4 separate regions of the Homo sapiens genome follow, and all the other regions are linked to region 1. The links are contacts of gene promoters, found by promoter capture Hi-C in human tissues and cell types (Jung and others, 2019). All regions are on one chromosome and are shown on one strand. The core of a region is centred on a gene start or on the middle of the fragment in contact, and the rest is flanking DNA. Distances in the headings are between cores, read along the strand shown. Region 1 holds the start of EIF6 (eukaryotic translation initiation factor 6). Region 2 overlaps GGT7 (gamma-glutamyltransferase 7). Region 3 overlaps ACSS2 (acyl-CoA synthetase short chain family member 2). Region 4 overlaps ACSS2 (acyl-CoA synthetase short chain family member 2).

Region 1 (5,954 bases), core at 3,455-5,954:
CTGTCTGAAGACTTCCACCTTGAGCACATCTGCCAGAATTTCTTCTGTCTCCTGTCAATCAAAGATATTGTGTTCAGGGCTCAGAACTTACAGCCCCAGAACCAAGGTTCTCCATGCCCAGAAGCATCCAGGCCTTGGCTCCCTGAGCCCCTCATTTCTCCTCTGTACCTCATATGAAAGCCTCACCCAGAGAAAGGAGGAAGTACAGCTTAGAGCAGAGTCAAGGGCAGCTGTGAAGCCCCTAATATTCATGCATGCCCTGAACAGCTGGAGGCTGGTCTCAATATCACTTCTTTCCCCTCTCACCCACAGTCAAAAGTTCAACAGTCAATCACCTATCCTGGCCCAGGATGCAGGACTGGATGGTTCAATCTCCCCAATCATGAAGGATTCATACCCTCCCCAGCTTCTTTCTGACACTTGATAAGGCCTCTGTTATCACTATTCCAATGAGTACCTGAAACTCAAGAGCCCATATAGAAAAACCACAGGAGAGACCCCTAATTGCTGCCTGTTGGGAAAGAACAGTGGCTAACCACTGACTAGGATGGCCCTGTGACTCTTGGGTCAAGTTGGGCTGCCTCACCCTGTCCAAGTCTGGGTGGACCAAGGCCACGTAGTCATTGCAGGTGGTGACATTGCCCAAGGCTGAGAGCCGCTCCTCCACCCGCCTAATCTGCACTGTGTCTGGGAGGCTGTTGCGAATGTGTTGCAGCTCCTGGTCGGTGGTATTGTTGGGTACCAGGAGACCGTGCCTGTTCCCTGGAGAAACCCAAATTAGAGGGTGAATACACAAGATGCCTGCTGAGCCCTAGGGGCTGAGGATACCACTCAGCCCAGCCCAATCAGCTTTCCCAGGAAAGCTTTAGGCCCAGAGCCCAGCCCTCCAACCCACTGATCTGGAAAACACCCAGGGCAGGCCAGAGACCACCCAGGAATCCCAATAAATCCTGCCTACTTCACCATCACCAACTGGGAGGGAAGCTGAGCTCTTGGCATTAGCTGTATATTTTGCTACTTAAAAACTGAGCTGCCGGGCGTGTTGGCTCACGCCTGTAATCCCAGCACTTTGGGAGGCTGAGGTGGGCAGATCACAAGGTCAGGAGATCGAGATCGAGATCATCCTGGCTAACACGGTGAAACCCCGTCTCTACTAAAAATACAAAAAATTAGCCAGGCGTGGTGGCGGGCGCCTGTAGTCCCAGCTACTCGGGAGGCTGAGGCAGGAGAATGGCGTGAACCCGGGAGGCGGAGCTTGCAGTGAGCCGAGATCGCGCCACTGCACTCCAACCTGGGTGACAGAGCGAAACTCCGTCTCCAAAAAAAAAAAACAAAAAAACAAAAAAAACTGAGCTAACACTACACACATAGCAGAATGGCTAGATTATTATTTTTTAAGGCAGAGTCTCACTCTGTCACCCAGGCTGGAGCGCAGTGGTGCGATCTCAGCTCACTGCAACTTCTGCATCCTGGGTTCAGGTGATTCTCCTGCTTCGGCCTCCTGAGTAGCTGGAATTACAAGTGCGTGCCACCACACCTGGCTAACTTTTTGTGATTTTGTAGAGATGGGGTCTCACTATGTTGGCCAGGCTGGTCTCGAACTCCTAACCTCAGGTGATCCGCCCACCTCGACCTCCCAAAGTGCTACGATTACAGGTGTGAGCCACTGCCCCCAGCCAGAATGACTAAAATTTTTACAAGTCATCAATTCCAAGTGTTGGCAAAGATATATGGAGCAACTGAACTCTCATACTGAGACAGGAGTGTAAGTTGGTCAATCACTTTAGATAATTATCTGGCATCATCTGCAACTACTACTAAATAGTCACATAACCTGTGACTCTGCCATGCCACTCTTAGGTATCATATACCCAGTAGAAATATGTACATGTGTTCACTAAAAAAACATAGCAGCACTATTACTTTTTTTTTTTTTTTTGAGACGGAGTCTTGTTCTGTTGCCCAGGCTGGAGTGCAGTGGCACAATCTCGGCTCACTGCAAGTTCTACCTCCCCGGTTCACACCATTCTCCTGCCTCAACCTCCCAAGTAGCTGGGACTACAGGCACCCGCCACCACACCTGGCTAATTTTTTTGTATTTTTAGTAGACACGGGGTTTCACCGTGTTAACCAGGATGGTCTCGATCTCCCGACCTCGTGATCCGCCCGCCTCGGCCTCCCAGAGTGCTGGGATTACAGGCGTGAGCCACCATGCCCGGCCAGCAGCACTATTCCTAACAGACCAAAGTGAAAACTGCCCAAATGCACTGTCGATGGAATGGATGAATACGTTGTGATATACTTACACAAAACACACCATACAGCAACAAGAATGAACAATCTACAAATACACGCCAATCAATTTCTGAATTCCAGGTCACTCCCATCATAAAATACACAAGGACTAAGCTAAAATCTCCCTTGTTGTCAGAACTTGCTTCAAGTCCTAAGGGCATGGTTAGAGATCAGAGTATTTTAACTGAATAGGAAAATACTTTGAGGTCACTAGGCTTAAGTTTTTGTTGTTGTTGTTTTTTGTTTTTTGTTTTTTTTTGAGACACAGTTTCACTCTTATTGCCCAGGCTGAAATGCAATGGCACAATCTCAGCTCACCGCAGGGTGAGCTCCACCTCCAGGGTTCAAGCAATTCTCCCGCCTCAGCCTCCCAAGTAGCTGGGATTATAGGTATGCGCCACCACACCCGGCTAATTTCTGTATTTTTAGTAGAGACGGGGTTTCTCCATGTTGGTCAGGTTAGTCTCGAACTGCTGACCTCAGGTGATCCACCTGCCTCGACCTCCCAAGCAGGCTTAAGATTTTTAAAAATTAAAGTAAAAGTAAAAAAATAAAATAAACAGACTTCTAAAAGTGACCTCAATGAGCAGAACTAAGAAACAATGGGCAGCAGTAATGGAAGACAGATCCAGCTTAATGAAAGGACCGGCCGGGCGCAGTGGCTCACGCCTGTAATCCCAGCACTTTGGGAGGCCGAGGTGGGAGGATCACCTGAGGTCAGGAGTTCAAGACCAGCCTGGCCAACATGGTGAAACTCCATCTCTACTAAAAATACAAAAAAATTAGCCGGGTGTGGCGGGATGCGCCTGTAATCCCAGCTACTTGGGAGGCTGAGGCAGGAGAATCACTTGAAGAGAGTGTTGCAGTGAGCCAAGATCGTGCCATTGCACTCCAGCCTGGGCAACAAGAGCGAAAACTCCATCTCAAAAAAAAATAATAATAATAATAAAAAGGAAAGGACCAACGACCAGAATTAACAGTGCTGACAGGTAGGAAGGTAGGGTAGAGATGTGGTAAAGGGAATTTAAGATTCCAACGTAACTGAGCAGGAAGACCGCATATCTTAGCTAATCTTTACAGAGACAGAAATGGATGCTTAGAAAGAGAAAGCACCTTGCCCAGTCAGTGGCAGGGAGAGATGAGATACAAATCCTCGGCTGGGTATAGTGGCTCTCGCCTATAATCCCAACACTTTAAGAGACCAAGGTAAGAAGATCACTTGAGCCCAGGAGATCAAGGCCAGGCTGGGCAACACAGGGAGGCCGCGTCTCTACCAAAAATGTAAAAATTAGCCAGGTGTGGTGGCACGTGCCTGTGGCCCTAGCTACCTGGTAGGCTGAGGTGGGAGGATCACTTGAGCCTAAGAAGTTGAGGATGCAGACAGCTGTGATCTTGCCACTGCACTCCAGCCTGGGCGAAAGAGCAAAAATCTGGCCTCAAAAAAAAAAAAAAAAGAGAAAAATCCTTCTCCAACACTAGGAACTAGGTGTGGAACTTACTGAGTCACTTAGGTCAAGTCTCAACTTCCTCATCAGTCAAGTTAGGCCAGTAACTCCTACCTTCTAGTGTCTTTGTGACGAAGGAATGAGAACAGGAGTGAAAGCACTTTACATTATTTGTTATTACTATTATCCAGCAGCCTTTGCTAGAGGGTTGCCCCGATCTCCTGACGCTTGGCCTGAGAGATTCTATAGTGCCCAGAGATAACAGATGATACCCTGGGAATCCCTAGGTCACTCCGGGTTCCCTCCGGGGGTGTAATTAATGGTGCTTGGAGACCACTCCCTCCCTCGGCGTCCTCCACCTGCCTTACCCACACACATGCGCCCGATGATGCGGCAGCCGGCGATAGACGCGTGCACCACGGGGATGGTATCGGAGAGCTCGCCCTCGAACACACTGTAGGGACATGGACTCGGTGGTGGCGGGGCAGAGGGGCCGGCACCCTCCCACTGCCGGAGCTCTTGACTCCTGCGCACGCCTCCCCGCCACCGTAAGCCCCGGGGCTCCCGCCGCACCTGTAGAAGTTCTCTGAGCCTCCGATCGCTACCAGACAGTAGGTGTTGGTGAGCTTGGCAAAGCAGCCGATCTCACAGTTGTTCTCGAACGAAGCTCGGACCGCCATGAGGCCTAGGGGCGGCGGAGGCGGGAGTTCAAGGCCGGCGGATCCTTTCCCAAGTATCCCGGCCTCCGTCCCTCAGGCCCCGCCGCGACCCCGCCCCTCTCGGCCTCCCGGCCCCTCCGTCCTCGGGTCCCGCCCACTGGGCCCCCACCAGAACCTCCGGCCCTGAATCCTCTGGCCCCCACCCCTCCCGACCCAGGACCGGAGCTGACCCTCCCAGGTTCCCCTCACACCAGCTTACCAAGTAACCAGTAACAAGCTCCGCACGCGGCGACTGTACCTTGGACTCCCTAAAAAGGTTTCCGTTTCCACTTCCGTCCAGGGAGACTTCCGGGAGAGCCCGGCGCTCCCCGCCACGCATCCAGCCCCTCTACCTCCGGCCTCCGGCGGACTCTATGGTCGCGAGCGGTCTGGGCGCGACCCCGCCTGGCCCCACGCCTAGCCTGCTCGCGTTCATTCATTCATTATTCATTCAGGAGCTTTTTAGGAGCTGTCATCGACCTAGACCTCCGGCTGGTCGGTTGTGAGGCATGAGGGAGAGGAGGGGCCAGGAGTGTCTCGCGGAAGGGTTGATGATGGAGGTATTGATGGAAATGAAGCCGGAGGAAGGGCAGGTTTGGGGAAAGGGATGAGTCCAGCTGTGCCTTGAGGGACAGAAGTCCATGTCTGGAGCCCAGCAGGGGAGTGGAGTGCTGACGAATGAGATGAGGGGCTGAAGACGGGTGGACTAGAAGAGGCTACCCATGGAGAGAGTTCCAGGAGGCAGAAGTGCGGCCAGACCGAGGCTGGAGAAAGAGCGCAGCCAGAGACGGAAAGGCAGCCAGGCTGCAGGTGCTGGAGAGAGGGGAGGACTGAGGAAGCAGGGGCTCAGGAAAAGGCTGGAAAGGGGTCCAGGGTGGGCAAGGATGTGGGTGCTGGTTGGCTTCCACGATGTGCCTCTCGCACGGCCTCTATCACTCACTCAGCAGCCAACTTCTGTCCCCAGGATAGTGATGGGGGCCAAGGGCCCTGCTGCACACTTGGACAGGATGAACTTGGCCCACATTTTGTAGAATCTGCAAAAGCCCCGGGTTCTCTCAAAATGTCACAGTGGTAACTTGGAGCCCCTGGACTCCCCCAATTCCTCCTTCGGCATTCACCCTCCTCCAGGGGTTTCCCCATAATTGGCCTGAATGGTGCCCTTCCCATTCCCCCAACGTGTCCCTCCCATAACTCCTCAAAGTTCAGGATACACCAGGCGCTGTGATTCACAATAAAGTCTGCCTTTATTGATGTGTATCATGTTTACTATCCCGGGTAAGTGGTGAGTTCAGGAAAATGGCCCACAACCTGTCACAGCCTGTACTTCAAGAGACACTCAGCAAGATGATGACGACGACAATGATGATGATGATGATGATGACTCAGCAAGATGATGACGACGACAATGATGATGATGATAATGATGATGTGTGTGTGTGTGTGTTTCCGGGTATCCACATACTCTGCTCTTCCTCACTCATTCACCTCAGACCCACTCAGTCCTCTTTAGGGCATC
Region 2 (5,954 bases), core at 1,332-3,831, 430 kb before region 1:
AGCTCTCACCCTTGGTCCAGGCTCCTTAGTCTTGAGAATTCTTACACCGGGTGTCATCTGAGCCTCCTAACAGCCCTGGAAGACAGGCAGGCCTGTGATGACTGTTTCCATTTCACAGAGAGGGAAAGTGAAGTCCAGCAAGGAAAATGACTTACTCCAGAGTTTAGAGGAAGCCAGGGAAGATACACCACTAGAACCAAGTCTCTTTAATCTAGCCCGGGGCTCCCTTCTTTTCTCTCTGGATAGGGCAAGGTTAATAGCTAGGAGTGGTCTAGGGCACAATGTGGGTGCTTTTAACTTAGTGGTTAGGAGTGTGCGTAGGCTCTGGAACCAAACTGCCTCCCTGCTCTTTCTAGCTGAAGGTACTTGACCTAAAGTCTTAACCTCTCTGGGCTTCGGTTTCCTTATCTATAAAATAGAAATAAGGATTCTCTCCAGAACTGGGAAGGTTAAAATGGTTAACACACATAACACAGTGCCCAGCACTTAGTACGAACTCTTTAAATGTTAGCTATTGTTATTATTTCCATTTTAAAGATGAAGAGACTGAGGTTCAGAGCTGTTAAGTGAATGCTCCAGCATCACACAGTTACAAATTGGTAGCACTTGGGCCGGAACCCAGGAGTGTCTGATTCCAGAACTTAAGATCGTTAACTCACCACCTGCCAAAATAGGTGCCTGGCATATATATCAGGTTCTCAAGACATTCATGGAGCCATTCTGAGGTGTTCTGGAGAAAAGCAGGCCCTTCCTTTCAAATCCCACCCTAAAGAGGGCTGGTTGTCTATTCAGATGCTGGGTAGAGGTATAATGGGACTTGAGGTTAACAGAACCCAGGCCACCCAGATGCTAACCCCACTTTTCAATCTACTGACCCTGCCATTTCCCCTGCAACCGGGAAAGACAGGGAGCATCAGGGCTCCATTTTCACTAAGAAACTCAGCGCAGCCCATGTCCACATTGCCCAGGATGCGCCTGGCACAAAACAGCCTCAGCCCATGTTTGCCGCATGAGGAATGGAAACAAGCCACAGATATGACAGGCATCTGCAGTCTAGGCCACAGCTTGGCTCCCGGCTGAAAAAGGCCAACCATGGCGTAAACCTCACCTGTGTCAGGCCGCTGAGGCCCCGCGCAGCTCCATTGGCCCCCAGAGCGAGGTAGGTTCCACAGAGCCCCTCCGCGGGTCGGACCACTGTGGGCAGCAGGAAAGAGAGTGGCCGCTTCCCTGGCTGCACTGAATTCTCCTGTTGTTAGAGGACAGAGACCACAAGGGGCAGGTGGGGTGGGACAAGACCGGGAAAGGGCCCCTCCACAACCCTTCCAACTGCTCTCCCTCTTCTACATCTTCCACAGGCCCAGTTTTCCTGGGAGACTGGTCCCTTCCCAGACAACAGTTTGCTATCTGTGAAATGGGTAGGGTGCCTGGATGGGTGGGGTGGATGGGGGAGTGATAAGTACATCCACTGAGCTATGAGGCTGCTACGGGTCACAGGAGAAAGGACCAAGCCAAGAAAGATGGCAATGGGGAAGAACAGGATAACCCCACCCTGATCATCTCTATGTGTCTTTGCCCTGCTGGGGCCCCAGATGGCGGGGTGTAAGAGTGCTGATTTTTAACTAGATAAAAATTATTAAATCCTTCCTCCTTGGGTCCCTCTTTGGTGCCCAACCATAGGGCTGAGCCCCATCAGCTCAAGCTCACATAGTCACAGACCGCTAGTGCTGGAAAATGCCCAAAACATCAAATAGGAGCCAAAACCCTCATTGTACAGGTGAAGAAATTGCCCAGAGAGGGCAAGATCTTCACAAGGTCACACAGTAAGACAGTGACAGAATGGGACAAGGGTTCTTCAGACCCACCAGGCTCCATGTCCCAGACTTAGCAGGGCTAGGGATGAGGTGAACCTCTTCTTTAGGCTTCCTTATACTAGAAGATTCTGGAGAAAGTAGGGAGAAAGGGGCAGCCATGCCATTGCACCTCCTACCTATAGGCCTCAGGGTCCCCAGGAAAGCAGGGAAGCAAATCCTACCAGGCTGGGTGCAGAGTGGTTAGCTGTCCGGTTGGGCCAGGAGAAGTCCAGCATCTGGCTGTTGAGCAGGATCCCCGAGGGGGTGATAAGGCCGCTGCCAAAGGGCTGGTTCAGGGAGCTGGGGGCCGAGGTGGGGTTGGGTGAGCCCTGGCCCATCCTCACCTCTACCCAGCCCCCACCCCCTCTTGGTTCAGAGGATCCCTTGTTCCAGGTTCTGAGTCTGAGCTGGCATACCTAACCATGGCCACAATGAAGTCATCAGGTCCCATGATCAGCACCTGGGCAGCCGTGGGAGCTCCGTCTAGTTCATAGACAGGCAGGAGTGGGGCAGGGGCTGCCTGGGAGTCATTGATATGGCCCCGGAGGTAGGCGGCCTCCACCTTGCTGAAAAGACAAGGGGTGGGAGATGAGCAAACAACAGGCTCTCAATACACCCCACCTACCTCACTTTTGTGGTGTTTGTGTAATTATTTGATGAAATCTACCTCCCTCACTGGACTACTAGGTCTATGAGTGCAGAAGCTCATTAATTGCACATAAGAAATACCCAGAAAATAGCTGTTGAATGTATTTAGGTATTATTTAGATTCTTTTCTGGAACCAACTTTTATTTAATGTTTAAATCAAGAGCCTTTTAGTTATCTGACTTCTTAATCCTTTCTATGAAAGTGCCTGGTGCATAATGGATCAGAAAATATTTGCTTTGAATTAACAAACTGGATTCATTTAAACTAATGTTTGTAGTCTAAAGTTTTATTAAGAGTTTAGTTGGGGGAGGATTTTGTATATGAGGATTTTTTTTTTCTTCCTAATGAGATAGAGTTTTTCTCTGTCACACAGGCTGGAGTGCAGTGACGCTGTCTCAGCTCACTGCAACCTCTGCCTCCCAGGTTCAAGTGATTCTCCTGCCTCAGCCTCCCGATTATCTGGGATTACAGGCACCTGCCACCACACCTAGCTAATTTTTTTTAGTAGAGACGGGGTTTCACCATGTTGGCCAGGCCGGTCTTGAACTCCTGACCTCAAATGATCCACTCACCTCGGCCTCCCAAAGTGCTGGGATTACAGGCATGAGCCACCACATCCAGTCAGGATCTTTACTTTCTTTTAGAGTTTTTTCCCAAGGCACAGAGTAAGTGCTCAATAACTATTTACTGGATGAACTGGTTGAATAGATTTCATATAGGTGTGTGTGTGTGTGTGTGTGTGTGTGTGTGTGTGTGTGTGTTTTAGAGCAAAGTTTGCATTGACCTTAGAAACAATATGTAATGCTCCAGACTTTTAAAAATTCAACTGAGGCGGGAGGCTGAAGCAGGAGAATTGCTTGAACCTGGGAGGCAGAGGTTACAGTGAGCCAAGATCATGACACTGCACTCCAGCCTGGGCGACAGAGCGAGACTCCATCTCAAAAAAAAAAAAAAAAAATTCAACTGAGGGTTTCTTACCTAATAACTATGTGTTGGATTATCCATAGCTGATTAGAGAATAAGTTACCAAAGATTACTTGAAGACATTTATTCAATTTTCAACCAAACAAAGCTTTACATGTATGATTTTGTTTAGTCCTTACCACAACCTTACAAGGTTGATACCATTATTGTCAAGCCCCCTTGTAGAAACAGATTTAGAGAGTTTAAACCACTTGCCCAAGGCTGCACAGCTAGCGAAGGGTCAAGCTGGAATTTGAATGAAGGCAGTCTCACCAGAGCCCACAAGCTACTACTATGTTATGTTGCTAATGAAGCTGTATTACCACCACCTTCAGTATTTGCTTGGAGACTGTTTGTTTGTTTGTTTTTGGAGACAAAGTCTCACTCTGTCACCCAGGCTGGAGTGCAGTGGCATGATCTCGGCTCACTGCAACCTCTGCTTCCCGGGTTCAAGTGATTCTCCTGCCTCAGCCTCCTGACTAGCTGGGACTACAGGCACGCGCCACCACGCCCGGCTAATTTTTGTATTTTTAGTAGAGGCAGGGTTTCACTATGTTGGTCAGGCTGGTCTCAAACTCTTGACCTCAGGTGATCCACCCGCCTTGGCCTCCCAAAGTACTGGGATTACAGGCGTGAGCCACCGTGCCTGGCTTTTGTTTGGTATTGAGCTTTCTTTTCCTACTCAAAAGGAGGAGCAGATGGGCTTATATAGGTGCTATGCTAGCCTCAAAAAAATTTAAGAGCCACATGAAGTAAGCCAACTCATTGTGCTGATAGGAAAGGTGAGGTGCAGGGAGAGGCACCCAGTGTCACGTTGTGAGTTGGGGTTGAGCTGAAATTGACTTAGGATTTCAGGCCTTTATTGCTATACCAGCTGCTTTTCTCCTGACCCTTTCCCCACACCCACCGCTGCCTCTGTAGCCCCCAGGTCCTGCCCAAGACCCACCTGAGCATGTCATCCATGCTCTCAGTGATGGTAGAATCATAGACGGGATCTCCCAGTCTGCTGGCCAGGGCTAATGCAATCTTCAGGGTCTGAAAATACAGCAGGGATATGGAAGAGGCTGCCAGGCCCCTCCCAGAACCCACACCCAGTGGACTTTCGTGTGTGAGAAAACTTGGAGGGGATTTAGTCCTGCCCTATGGCAGTACCCAATCTCCCCACTCCTAATATCCTTAAATCCAGGGAAAGGCAGACGGGTCAGCCTTACCTCTGCCACCCAGTGAAGAGCCTGTTCTCGGGATACCAGGCTGGTGAGATTGAAGCCCTCCAGGATGTTGAGAGCACTGATGAGGGCAGGGCCCGTGTGCGGAGGTGGGGGACTAAGAACCAGGTGGCCTGAAAGGACAGGAAGTGACTGATGGCAGGGTAGGGGTCAAGGCACCTTCACATCCCACATCCCATCTCCACATTCCACCATCACACACTGAGACCACTGCGCTGAACTCCCTCACCAGATGGGGAAACTGAAACATTGAGAGGCAAAGAGACTCATTCAAGTTCACATGGCAAGTCAAGGGCAGGGCCAGGACTTGAACTCAGAACACTGGTCTTCAGTTTCCTCTGCCATTTGAGAAAACTAAGGCTCAAGAGGGCTGTGGCTTGCCCAGAGTCACACTGCAGGCTATCAGCAGAGCACAGCAGAAACAGGTGACCAGATGTTCATATTCCTGGCCTGTCATGTGTCTCCTTTTAGCTCTCCCATAGGCCAGGATATTATCCATGACTCCTGATGGTCTCATCCAGCCCCAAACTTCTTGGCAGCAGCAACCTTCTCTTCCTATTCTGTTACTAGATGTTTGGACATCAAAGGAATAATAGCTGATGCATAACACTAACATTAACTCATTTAGTCCTCACTGTGGCTACTGTTATCACACATATTTGATAGGTCCAGAAACTGTGGTACAGAGAGACAAGGGGAATCCAGAGCACTCAAGGTACTAGCATTGTTGAGACAACCCAGGCTGGGAAGGGGAAATGGAAAATCTATATTCAGTGCATGCTCTGATCAGGGCAACTTCCTACATCATCTCATCAAATCCTTATGGGCATCCTAAGATGTAGGCACTATTATTATTTCCATTTTAAGGAGGGAACCAAGGCTCAGAGTGGGAAGTAGCTTGTTCAAGGTAAATGGCACAGTTGGTACTCAAACCCAGGTCTTCCTAGCTCCAACGCTACGCTTGTTCTTTTTTCTTTTCTGTGTGTGTGTGTGTGTGTGTGTGTGATAATGGTCTCACTCTGTCACCCAGGCTGTAGTGCAGTGGCACAATCATGCTTACTGCAGCCTTGACCTCCCAGGCTCAAGCAATCCTCCCATCTCAACCTCCTGAGTAGCTAGGACTATAGGTACACCACCACGCCTGGGTAATTTTTAAATTTTTTATAGAGACGGTGTCTCACTATGTTGCCCAGGCTGGTCATGAACTCCTGGGCTCAAGTGATCCTCCTGCCTCAGCCTCCCAATGTGCTGGGGTTATAGGCCTGA
Region 3 (5,954 bases), core at 2,476-4,975, 380 kb before region 1:
AGCTAGACACAAAGGTTCTCCACATCTCCACCAGATTAGCTAGATACAGAGTGCCAACACAAAGGTTCTCCAAGTCCCCACCAGAGTAGCTAGATACAGAGTGTCAATTGGTGCATTCACAAACCCTGAGCTAGACACAGGGTGCTGATTGGTGTGTTCACAAACCTTGAGCTAGATACAGAGTGCCGATTGGTGTATTTACAATCCCTGAGCTAGACATAAAGGTTCTCCAAGGCCCCACCAGAGTAGCTAGATACAGAGTGTCCATTGGTGCATTCACAAACCCTGAGCTAGACAGAGGGTGCAGATTGGTGTATTTACAATCCCTTAGCTAGACTTAGAGGTTCTCCACTTCCCCACCAGACTCAGGAGCCCAGCTGGCTTCACCCAGTGGATCCCGCACTGGGGCTGCAGGTGGAGCTGCCTGCCAGTCCTGCGCCGTGTGCCTGCACTCCTCAGCCCTTGGGTGGCCGATGGGACTGGGTGCCGTGAGCAGGGGGCGGTGCTCGTCGGGGGGGCTCGGGCCGCACAGGAGCCCACGGTGGGGGTGGGGGAGGCTCAGGCATGGCGGGCTGCAGGTCCCGAGCCCTGCCCCGCGGGAAGGCAGCTAAGGCCTGGCGAGAAATGGAGCGCAGTGCTGGTGGGCTGGCACTGCTGGGGTACCCAGTACACCCTCCGCAGCTGCTGGCCCGGGTGCTAAGCCCCTCATTGCCTGGGGCCGGCAGGGCCGGCCGGCTGCTCCGAGTGCGGGGCCTGCCAAGCCCACGCCCACTCGGAACTCCAGCTGGCCCGCAAGCTCCGTGCGCAGCCCCGGTTCCCGCTCGGGCCTCTCCCTCCGCACCTCCCTGCAAGCTGAGGGAGCCAGCTCCGGCCTTGGCCAGCCCAGAAAGGGGCTCCCACAGTGCAGCGGTGGGCTGAAGGGCTCCTCAAGTGCCGCCAAAGTGGGAGCCCAGGCAGAGGAGGCGCCGAGAGCGAGCAAGGGCTGTGAGGACTGCCAGCACGCTGTCACCTCTCAACGTTATCACATTTTTTTCTTTCTTTCTTTCTTTCCTTCTTTCTTTCTTTCTTTCTTTCCTTCCTTCCTTCCTTCCTTCCTTCCTTCCTTCCTTCCTTCCTTTCTTTTTCTTTCTTTTCTTTCTTTTTTGTTTTTTTTTGAGATGGAGTCTTGCTCTTGTCGCCCAGGCTGGAGTGCAATGGCATGATCTCGGCTCACTGCAACCTCCGCCTCCCGGGTTCAAGCGATTCTCCCACCTCAGCCTCCCGAGCAGCTGAGGTACAGGCACTGGCCACCACGCCCGGCTAATTTTTGTATTTTTAGTAGAGACGGGGTTTCACCATGTTGGCCAGGCTGGTCTTGAACACCTGACCTTGTGATCCACCCGCCCCAGCCTCCCAAAGTGCTGGGATTACAGGCATGAGTCACCACACCTGGCCCCACATTTTTCTTTATTCATTCCTCAATTGGTGGACATTTGGGTTGTTTACACTTTCTGATGTCATGAATAACGCTACTACAAACCTTTGGGTACATGTTTTTGTGTAGATGTATGTTTTCAATTCTCTTGGGTATATAGCTAGGAGTTTAATTGCTGAGTCATATGGTAAGTCTATATTTAACCTATTGAGGAACTGCCAGACTGTTTTCCAAAGTAGCTGAACCATTTTATATTCCCGGCAATGTATGAGGTTTCCAATTTCTGCACATGCTTGTCAGCACTTGTTACTGTCTGTTTGTTTGATTATGGCCATCTTAGTGAGTGTGAAGTGGGATCTGATTGTTATTTTGATTTGTATCTCCTTGACCATGCCTGACCTTTTTTTTTTTTTTTTTTTTTTGAGACTGAGTCTCGCTCTGTCGCCCAGGCTGGAGTGCAGTGGCACAATTTTGGCTGATTACGACCTCTGCCTCCCAGGTTCAAGAGATTCTCATGTGCAGCCTCCCAAGTAGCTGCGACTACAGGTGCGTGCCACCATGCCCGGCTAAATTTTTTTTTTTTTTTTTAGTAGAGATGGGGTTTGGCCATGTTGGCCAGGCTGGTGTCGAACTTCTGACCTCAGGTGATCCTCCCACCTTGGCCTCCCAAAATGTTGGGATTACAGGCATGTGCTACTGCACCTGGCCCATTAACTGCCTTTTGAAGACTGGCCGGTACAGTCCTGGCTCCCTCAATAGGTGAGGAATCAATGTTTAGGGAGAAATTTCATAAATAGTCCACTGATTGAGGCTATTTACTCTAGTTTCATCAGTTTTGAGTTGGTGAAAAGCCCGTCCAAATTTGGGTGATAGGATGACAGTTGATTCCAGTTTTTGAATCAGGAGCTGAGTGAGGCTGCATTAGGGTCTACAAGTTAGATATCATTTGAAACCAGAAATCTGTGGTGTTTTCAAAAGGAACTTTTTCTAAGGAACTAAGGGAAAACCAAACAGAATGATGAATTTCTGTTAAGTACACTAAAATTCCATCCTTGGTAGTTGTCAACCTCACAGTTCTCAGAGTTCCTACATTTTTATTTTTTTCCTTATGCTAATTCTGAATTTGGAAACAATACCCCCCTTTTGGAGGCCATGTCATTTAGGAGGAGAAGGCCCTGAACTAGACATTTAGACTCAAGAACTGTGCTATCCAACATGGAAGCCACTAGCTACATGTAACTATTGATATTTATAGTAATTAAAATTAAGTAAAATAAATAATCCAGTTCTTCCGCCACATTTCTAGTGTTTGATAGCTATATGTGGCTAGTGACTACCATTTTGGACAACAGTGCTTTAGAATAGTGTTGCTACTAATTTGTAAGTAACCTTGAGGTCATCACTTTCTATTTCTGTGCCATAGGTTTCTCAATGGTAAATAAGAGTGGTGAGTCTCAAAAGTACCATCCTCTTCTGGAATTCTTTCTTTTTCTCTTTTCTTTTCTTTCTTTTTTTGACAGGATCTTGCTTTGTTGTCCAGTCTAGTCTCTAACTCCTAGCTTCAAGTGATCCTCCCACCTCGGCCCCTAAAGTGTTGGGATTACAGGCATGAGCCACCATATCTGGCCCTCCTCTGGCATTCTGAGTAATCTGTGGTTCAGTTTTTGGGGTGTGCCTCCATCTACCTCCTCCTTCAGCCCTTCTTGATACTTACTGCAGCTAGGGCAGAAGCACCCAGAGGGAACATTAGGCTGCTAATTAGTCAAGGTACATTGCTCCCATTCCCTGGTGAAAGGGAAATTGACTTGTGGGTATACTTATATCTTGAGTGCTCCACAATTGTGCAGTGCTTTATGGATCACAGAACTCTTTCACATTGTTTTTTCATTTTATAGAATCAAAGAATCTCAAAGTTGGAAGGGCTGTAAAGGTCATCTCAAACTTCAATAACCATGAATTATATGGGGAGCTTATGCAATGAAAATTTCAAGGCCCCACTCCCTGGAGAATAATCTAGTAGAAGTAGGTGTCAGGGTTACCCTGGCCCAACCTGAACAATCCTGTGCTGCATGGGAACTTGGTACTGCATTATTAACACTATCTGACCACTCTTTGAGAAACACTGGTCTTGCTTGGTCCCCAGCCATATTGTGGAGGCTGCTCTTTGGTATCGCTACAAATCCCAGATTCAACATGATATCTCCAGGGTCAGGAAACTCCTGAAGGAGTGCCTTCCATCTTTGGACATCTCTAACAGAAAGGTTTTTTTTTTAATATGGAGCTCTCCCAATTGATGTAGATTTTCCATTTATAGTTATACTACATTAGTCTACTTTTCCCCATAATGATCCTTTAGATTCATGCATTCATTCAGCAAAAATTTACTGAACACCTATTATATACAAGGTTCTGTACGAGACAATGAGGGATTCAGCAGTGAACAAGACCAACTTGGCCTCTGCCTTCAGAAACTGTCTTCTGTCTAGTAGGGAAGATAGGAAATTAGCAAAAATAATAATAAGTAAACAAGTAATATTAATTCTATTAATAATATTAACAATAACAATAAGTAAACAAATAACAAAAGAAGTATAGTTTGAGAAAAATGCTGTGAAGAAAATAAGCAGTGTTATGATGAATAACAAGAAGAGCTGATCTACTTAGGGTGGTCAGGGAAAGCTTCACTAGGAAGTGACATTTAAGCTGAGATTTGAAACACAAGAAGAGTTGGGGAAAGATAGTTAAAGAATATGGCATGTTCTATCAGTCAGAAGGCCAGCATGTTTGGAGCCTAGTAGGCAGAATAGGAGAATGGCACAAGATGAAGTTGGGGAGGATACAAGGCATAGCAGGAGTGCGGATTTTCTTCTATATGCAGTGGAAGCTGTTAAAGGGTTTTAAGCAGGAGGTGATATGATCTGATTTGTGGTTTGTTTTATTGTTGTTTAATTAATTAATTAATTAATTAATTAATTTTGAGACAAGGTCTGGCTCTATTGCCCTGGCTGGAGTGCAGTGGCAACATCTCAGCTCACTGTAATCTCCACCTCCTGGGCTCAAGTGATCCTCCCACCTCAGCCTCCTGAGTAGCTGAAACTATAGGCATGTGCCACCACACCTGGCTATTTTTTTTTTTTTTTTTTTTTAGTAGAGAGAGCATTTCGCTATGTTGCCCAGTCTGGTCTCGAACTCTTGGGCTCAAGCAATCCTCCCACCTTGGCTTCCCAAAATGCTGGGATTACAGGCATGAGCCACCATGCCTGGCCAATTTATGTTTTTAATAGATCATTCTGTGGCCGGGTGCAGTGGCTCATGCTTGTAATCCCAGCACTTTGGGAGCCAAGGCAGGCAAATCACTTGAGGTCAGGAGTTCGAGACCAGACTGGCTAACATGGTAAAACTTCATCTCTACTAAAAATACAAAAATTAGCCAGGCATGGTGGCATGCACCTGTGGTCCCAGCTACTTGGGAGGCTGAGGCAGGAGAATCATTTGAACCCGGCAGGCAGAGGTTGCAGTAAGTCAAGATCACACCACTGCATTCCAGCCTGGGTGACAGACTGAGACTCTCTCAAAAAAAAAAAAAAAAAAGATCACAGATCATGCTGGGTGATGTGTGGACTGGAAGGGAACAAGAGTGAAGTGGGAAACCAGTTAGGTGGGCATTGTGGTCATCCAGGCAAGAGATGAAGGTAGCTTGACCGGGGTGGAGACAATGAAGATACAGATTTTTGAGACTTGCTATCACATCTCTCAATATCTTCTCTTCCACAAAATAAACAGTTCAGTGTTCCTCTCATCTCCTCTCATAACAGGTTTGGTGTCTCTTCTCACCTGGGTGTTTCTCCTCCTGTTTCTCCTCCATCTGATTCCTCTGTAAAGAACTCAGTCTTTCCCTCAGCTGTTTCTTCCTATCCTGTGCCTTGCTTGTAGTTCTAGGGAATTAAAATCTTCAATTCAATGACTATCGTTCTCATATAAAGAGGGGAGCTGGGTGCAGTGGTGCATGCCTGTAGTCCCAACTACTCTGGAGGCTGAGGTGGGAGAATCATTTGAGCCCGAGAGTTTAAGACCAGCCTGGGCAACATAGTGAGACATTGTCTCAAAAAAAAAAAAAAAAAAAAAAGTTGGGGGGTAGCACCAGTCTTCCCTGTCATTAGTCAATTACCAGTCTTTCAATTATTCAACCATGACCCTCGAATACCTATTGTGCCAATTGTGCTTGGAGGAGACAGAGAAGAAGACATGATCTCTGCCCTCCAAGAGCTCAGGGTATAATGGGAAAGATAAGGCCCAAATAAATATAATAAAAGCTAGAAAAACAGATCACAAAGAAAGTGAGATAAAGGGCTTTGGGAGGAAGAAAGAACTTTTAGCTTTTGGGTAGGTGAGAAAAAGAGAAACTAACAAAAATTTCATGGAAAATGTTAATTCAGAGAACCTGGGGCTGGAGAGGAGCGCAGGGAGTATTTTTTTTTTTTTAATGTGGTGATCAAAGATAACCTTACTGAGAAGCCAACATTTGAGCAACGACTCAAAG
Region 4 (5,954 bases), core at 1,651-4,150, 370 kb before region 1:
CTTTCCTTTTAAAACTCAGGCAGGACCTACACCCTTTCTTTTGAAAGAGGTGACAAACTTAGTGGCTTAAATTGTAATCTCTGGAGCCAGATTACTTGGGTTCAAATCCTGGCTCTGCCATCTGCTGCTGTGTAAACTTGAACAAATTACTTAAGCTCTCTCGCTTGTTTCTCCATCTGTAAGATAAGGATAATAATTATACCTATGTTATCGGGTTTTGTCAATATATGTAAGGTGTTTGGCACATAGTAACTACTCAATAAATGTTAGCTGTTTTTTCCTTCCCCTTAATGCAACAGACAGATTGGCATTTCTAAAACAGAGACCAGAAAAGAAATAACAAACTCTTGTAATTCTTAATACCAGAGACCTTCAGGCCAAAGGCTACTGGATTTTTGTTTCTTGGAGGTGAAAATAACCAGTTTCCAAAATACCAAAGAGCATAAAAATAGGCTTAAAAAGTCCAGGTTGTTGGTCTGAGAATTGCAGTCAAAGCTGCAAAAATCTTTCTGACAATGGGCCCCATATTTAAAAATTAAAAAATAGTTTTCAAAAGAGCTGCAAAAATCCTGGCAGGGCTCCAAACCCCTTTATCCTTAAACAATCTTCCAGGGAGATCCTGGCAGGGTTTGCAGGGACCCTCCTCAACCATATCGTCTATGAGCTCCCTCATATTCCTCTCCCGTACATGGCAGCTGCCCTCCTTGAGACTATCCTGGTCCAAGGACAAAGGCCAACTCCTCAATTCTTATTTTAGAAAATTCAGACCTTTTCCTGGTGCAGAGCCTGGGGCCTCATAGGCACACACCTAATTCACAATCAAAGGTTGCTTTGCTAATTGAGTTCACTCTGCTTCCTGGTGCTAGTTATCAGTTCCACACCTGGAGTACTCTGACCCCTCCACCTCTATATACACACCCACCCACAAAAGAAATAATAAGATTATAAGAGTGCCCTCATTGCAGAGCCACAGTTGTAACTATGCCTTGTCCTTACATGTACTTAGTGCCTGTTCTGTGGCAGTTCACAGTGCTGTAGACCAGCACCATTTGTCCAAAGCAGTATTGATACTTCTGGTTGAATACCTTAGTGCCCCCATCTCAAGTGATCATTTGGCAGGAAAAAAAGTACCCATGTGACAATGTATGTGTAGATGCATATGGATAGACCAAATCAGGTGTGTTCTTATGTTTTCTAACCGTAGGCAGCTTTCTCTCTCTTCTTCCTTTTTCTAGGCTTGTCGTTTTTATGATGTTGATAATCCAGAAATTTCAAATTCTCTACCATAAGGGGCAGGTGGTACAGAAAGAACGGAGTGGTTAGAGAGTCATTTTCTAATTTATCAAGCTATATATCTAACACTCCAGAAGTTTTTTTAACCAAATATGCACACAACAAATTAGCATATATCCTTATAATGGGAGAATGGCATTTATCTTACACCATCATGTCTACCTGCCAGCCAGGGCCATTGAACATACAAGAATCTAATTAATATGAAAGGACTTTGTGACAGCTAAAGCAAACCCCAAACAGTTCCTATCATCACACTCTTAAGTTTTTGTGGGTTTTTTTTGTTGTTTTTGTTTTTGTTTTTGTTTTTTGAGATGGAGTCTCACTCTGTCGCTCAGGCTGAAGTACAGTGGTACGATCTCGGCTTACTGCAACTTCTGCTTCCTGGTTTCAAGTGATTCTCCTGCCTCACCCTCCCAAGTAGCTGGGATTACAGGTGTCTACCACCACGCCTGGCTACTTTTTGTATTTTTAGTAGAGATGAGGTTTCACCATGTTGGCCAGGCTGGTCTTGAACTCACTCCTCACCTCAGGTGATCTGCCCACTTTGGCCTCCCAAAGTGCTGGGATTACAGGCGTGAGCCACCGCGCCCAGCCCCACACTCTTAAGTTTAACTCCCAGTAGTCACTGAACTAACCTCTGTCTCTCCTGACATTCATCAGTCTTCCTCATCTCACCCCAACCTCTACCCTTGGGGCAATCCAAGGCTTGATGTTTACTAGATAATACTTTTTTCTTTTGGTGTTTACCACATCCTGTGAGTCTGTTAAGGCAAGAATGACTGTCCTCATTTGTAAAAGGAGAGACTTAAGGTAAAGTGATTTGCCCAAGGTCATATAGCTAGGAAGTGGCAGAACTGGTATTGAAGTACACTGAAGATTTTGGACAAATTCAAGGGATCTAACTTCATTCAGCAGATGGTAGACTCAAAATTGGTGTTCAAAGAGGTGATATAGACAGAAAAGTAAAACAGTTTCAAAGGAGAATTTAGAGAAGTTTCAGGATGACAGATCCAGAAGTAATTATCAAAGGCATAGGGGGACATCCTTCTACTGGGAGAAGTCCACCTTGGTCCTTCTTCACCAACTTGAAGCAAAGCTTCCTGCTGAATGGAACCTGTCCCCTCAAGCAAAAGTCTCTATGGGAAACCCTATTGGTACCAGTGGTGTAAAGGCAGGAGCAGAGCTAGGGTAGGAAACACGCAGATGTGGATTGGGTCTGGACATGTAGGCAAAAGTGCTTGGACCAAGATCTGTTGACTTATTTTACTACTAACAGGGTCAGGTGCCCACCTCACCTGTAAGCTCTGACTAATTTTGCATTTCTGAATTGTGTGGTGTCCGCATCCCTGCTAATGAGCCTAGTCCCATAAGTACATATGTATGTATGTAGACCTGTGTGTGCATAGTCATTCATCCAACAAAAATTGACTGAGTGCCAGGCACTTTGCTAGGTGTTGGGAGATATGGCAGGGGTCGGGAGGAAAGACATTTCACCTCCTTCATAGATGTCGCTATCTAGATGGGGAGACAGTAATCAAGTAGACAACTAAACAAAATAACAGGAAATATGTACTGTGTGGGAAAGAAACATGGTGTTGTGATCAATAATAATAGCAGGGTTGGGGGTAGCAATCTATCAGATACTGTTCAGGTAAAGGCTTTCCAAGAAGGTGACATTTCAGCTCAGAATTGAAGGATGGGAAGGGACCAGCCAAGGGTTCCTCCTCAGCCTGAGGCCAGGTGAGAGGAGTTCTGGGGTAGAGATGGGGGTAGGATGGCAGGGTGGTTGGAGTACTCAGTAAGCTTGGGTTCTGCTCCTGTTCTTTCTGTTCCATTCCATCCTTGAAGGGCCTTCTCTCCCTTCCTGTACTCCTACCTGCCTGTCCCACCTCATTCCCTCCAGGGGCAAGGTACGGGTGTATCTTGTCCCCATCTTGAGCTGTTCACAGTTCTTCCCTGCCCATCCCTGCAGATCTCATGGAACCAAGGGATTGACTTGTGGTGGCATGAGCTCATGCAAGAGGCAGGGGATGAGTGTGAGCCCGAGTGGTGTGATGCCGAGGACCCACTCTTCATCCTGTACACCAGTGGCTCCACAGGCAAACCCAAGGCAAGTGTGTGTGTGTGTGTGTGTGTGTGTGTGTGTGTGTGTGTGTGTATTATGTAGGGGTAAGAAGTAAGTTTCTGAGGAAACAAGTAATGAAATTATTTTTTTCCTACAACCCTGAGTTTTGGAAATGTAGCATTGTCTTTTCTAAATCAAATTAAGACATAAATCCTCAATCTATAGGTGGTGAGGCCCAGGGTGAGACAGTTCAGGTGGAGGGTTTTCATACAGCTGACATGGATGTTCTTTCCCTATGCACCCATGGTTTGGTTGAAGGAGAGCTATTCTGTTAACTCAAGGCCAAGGGTGGGCACAGAGATCCCTCTCAGGCTTCTAAGACCATAACTCTTAGAGTTCAATTCCTTCCACCTGGCACACTATTAACATGTAGTCCTCTGCCAGCACACACCATGGGAGCCGGAAACACTTAAGAAAACTGTTTCTTCCATTGACTTGAAAGCTATGTCACTCTACCTTCTGCCCACTCCACCCCTAAATTATCTCCATATGCTTTGGAATATCCCTCAATAAGTCTTTAGAAACACAATTTTGGCCTCTCTTTCATAGAGATGGGGGTAGGGATGGAATAAGCAAAGGGAATTATCTTTTTTTTCCCACTCACTCTGATGGTGTGTAATTGAGTGTGTGGGCACAAATACACAACAGAGGGACTATTATGAGTGTGCTATGAGTGCTCATGTGTGAGTGATGTGGGTGGCTCTGAAATACCATCTGAGGGTGCTGGTATGAATGATGGCCTGATAGACATATGTGTCATCAGGAGTGTGATAAAGGAGATGAGATGGGAGCATGGAGAAAAGGAGATGGAAGGGAGATGGATGCTGTGAAAAGGGTGCTGGCAGGGCTGGAATCCCTGAGGAGGATCTTCCTCCAGCTCTGCCCAGCCTCCATTTGGTGGTCAGTAGGGGTGGGCATAAGACCCTAACCTGTTCCCCATTCTTCCCACAGGGTGTGGTTCACACAGTTGGGGGCTACATGCTCTATGTAGCCACAACCTTCAAGTATGTGTTTGACTTCCATGCAGAGGATGTGTTCTGGTGCACGGCAGACATTGGTTGGATCACTGGTCATTCCTACGTCACCTATGGGCCACTGGCCAATGGTGCCACCAGTGTTTTGGTGAGAAGGGAGCCACCTGGCCTAGCTGGGGGATGGACAAGATTATCCTGGGTGACTACCTCCCAAGGCTGCTTGGTCTAGAGGGAGGGGGACTTATACAATCATCTGTTTTCTGGAGAAAGAGAAGTCCTGAGGGGGTTGCGTATCCTGACTAGGATGGTATCTTGGCTTGTCTGGCCAGGGAGTGAAGATATGGTTGGTCAGAAAGGGCAAAATACTGAACCTGAGGGAATGGTAGGGGGATGAATAGAAGGACTATTAGGAAAGACTGGGAATGACCAGCCTTCATGGGTCAGTTTGAGGGGATTCCCACATATCCGGACGTGAACCGCCTGTGGAGCATTGTGGACAAATACAAGGTGACCAAGTTCTACACAGCACCCACAGCCATCCGTCTGCTCATGAAGTTTGGAGATGAGCCTGTCACCAAGTGAGACCTCTTCCCAGTTGCTGCCCTGTGGGTATCCCTCAGAGCTGGGTGCTGGCCTTTGTACAGTCTCTTCTTTTCCATTGTCCCAACTCTCTGACCTGGAATAGAGGATGGGGCAAGAGAAAAGCCTGGGTATGTGTGTCTTCCAGTAGTACTCAGAGCCTTCCTCTCTCCCATTCCCCTGCCCCAGGCATAGCCGGGCATCCTTGCAGGTGTTAGGCACAGTGGGTGAACCCATCAACCCTGAGGCCTGGCTATGGTACCACCGGGTGGTAGGTGCCCAGCGCTGCCCCATCGTGGACACCTTCTGGCAAACAGAGACAGTGAGTGAAGGGTACAGAAGGCTGGGGCCCAGGGACAATGTGGGAAGATTGACTCAAATTTCTCATCTCTGACTTCCCCAGGGTGGCCACATGTTGACTCCCCTTCCTGGTGCCACACCCATGAAACCCGGTTCTGCTGTGAGTGATGCTTCCCTGGCTGGTCTTGGGCTAGGCAGGGATGGTGTCTTGGGGCACTTGGCCTAGTTAGATAGTGGAGAACTGGACTGACATGTGTGAAGAATTTGGGGTTCTGGGGCCCCTTGGGAGTTGAGTCAGAGTTGCCTCATTCCTCTTCTTGGGTTCTGTCTCCCGTTTGCTTCTAGACTTTCCCATTCTTTGGTGTAGCTCCTGCAATCCTGAATGAGTCCGGGGAAGAGTTGGAAGGTGAAGCTGAAGGTTATCTGGTGAGGCCCTGGCCCTTGGGAGTCTTTAAGGAGAGAGGGAAAGGGTCTGCCAAGGGTACTTTGCTTTAGAGTTAATAACCTAATCTCTCCTGGTAGCTGCTTAGGACTGAAACTTCATGGTTGGAGGTTTGCTCACTGAGAGACCCTGGAGGGGACCCTCGATACTTTGCCTGCATCTCTTCCTTTTGGGCCATAAGTCTCCTAAGGGCGTTTTAAGAGTTGCTCAGATTCCTGATGGTACCTTTTTGGGTCTG

Evidence for each region. Contacts are between HindIII fragments. The study calls those that stand out against the background at their distance.
Region 2: a fragment that was not itself captured here is called in contact with the fragment with the promoter of EIF6 in region 1 in 1 of the 25 tissues and cell types used here (aorta).
Region 3: a contact is called between a fragment that was not itself captured here and the fragment with the promoter of EIF6 in region 1, in 1 of the 25 tissues and cell types used here (IMR-90 fibroblasts).
Region 4: a fragment that was not itself captured here is called in contact with the fragment with the promoter of EIF6 in region 1 in 1 of the 25 tissues and cell types used here (dorsolateral prefrontal cortex).

What each region holds. Positions count from the first base shown.
Region 1 is chr20:35,280,068-35,286,021 of GRCh38, forward strand. EIF6 (eukaryotic translation initiation factor 6) reads right to left here and starts at 4,705. Exons shown (of 7, transcript NM_002212.4): 1 at 4,659-4,705; 2 at 4,314-4,425; 3 at 4,109-4,194; 4 at 587-762; 5 at 1-51. The coding sequence starts at 4,420. It overlaps FAM83C (family with sequence similarity 83 member C), which reads right to left. Exons shown (of 4, transcript NM_178468.6): 4 at 5,664-5,954. FAM83C-AS1 (FAM83C antisense RNA 1) reads left to right here and starts at 5,184. Exons shown (of 2, transcript NR_109815.1): 1 at 5,184-5,248; 2 at 5,403-5,705. RefSeq lists a silencer at 4,435-4,624 and an enhancer at 4,717-5,267. The HindIII fragment of the contact is 18,620 bases long and covers 1-5,954 here.
Region 2 is chr20:34,850,123-34,856,076 of GRCh38, forward strand. GGT7 (gamma-glutamyltransferase 7) reads right to left here. Exons shown (of 15, transcript NM_178026.3): 9 at 4,674-4,801; 10 at 4,409-4,497; 11 at 2,267-2,416; 12 at 2,033-2,150; 13 at 1,109-1,246. Among named protein-coding and RNA genes, the nearest start is that of GGT7, 20 kb to the right of the region's middle. The HindIII fragment of the contact is 4,589 bases long and covers 288-4,876 here.
Region 3 is chr20:34,898,353-34,904,306 of GRCh38, forward strand. All of the region lies in intron 2 of ACSS2 (acyl-CoA synthetase short chain family member 2), which reads left to right. Among named protein-coding and RNA genes, the nearest start is that of ACSS2, 25 kb to the left of the region's middle. The HindIII fragment of the contact is 3,512 bases long and covers 1,970-5,481 here.
Region 4 is chr20:34,916,167-34,922,120 of GRCh38, forward strand. It overlaps ACSS2 (acyl-CoA synthetase short chain family member 2), which reads left to right. Exons shown (of 18, transcript NM_018677.4): 8 at 3,269-3,406; 9 at 4,373-4,543; 10 at 4,840-4,973; 11 at 5,164-5,296; 12 at 5,378-5,434; 13 at 5,620-5,700. Among named protein-coding and RNA genes, the nearest start is that of GSS, 37 kb to the right of the region's middle. RefSeq lists an enhancer at 4,674-5,873. The HindIII fragment of the contact is 5,456 bases long and covers 173-5,628 here.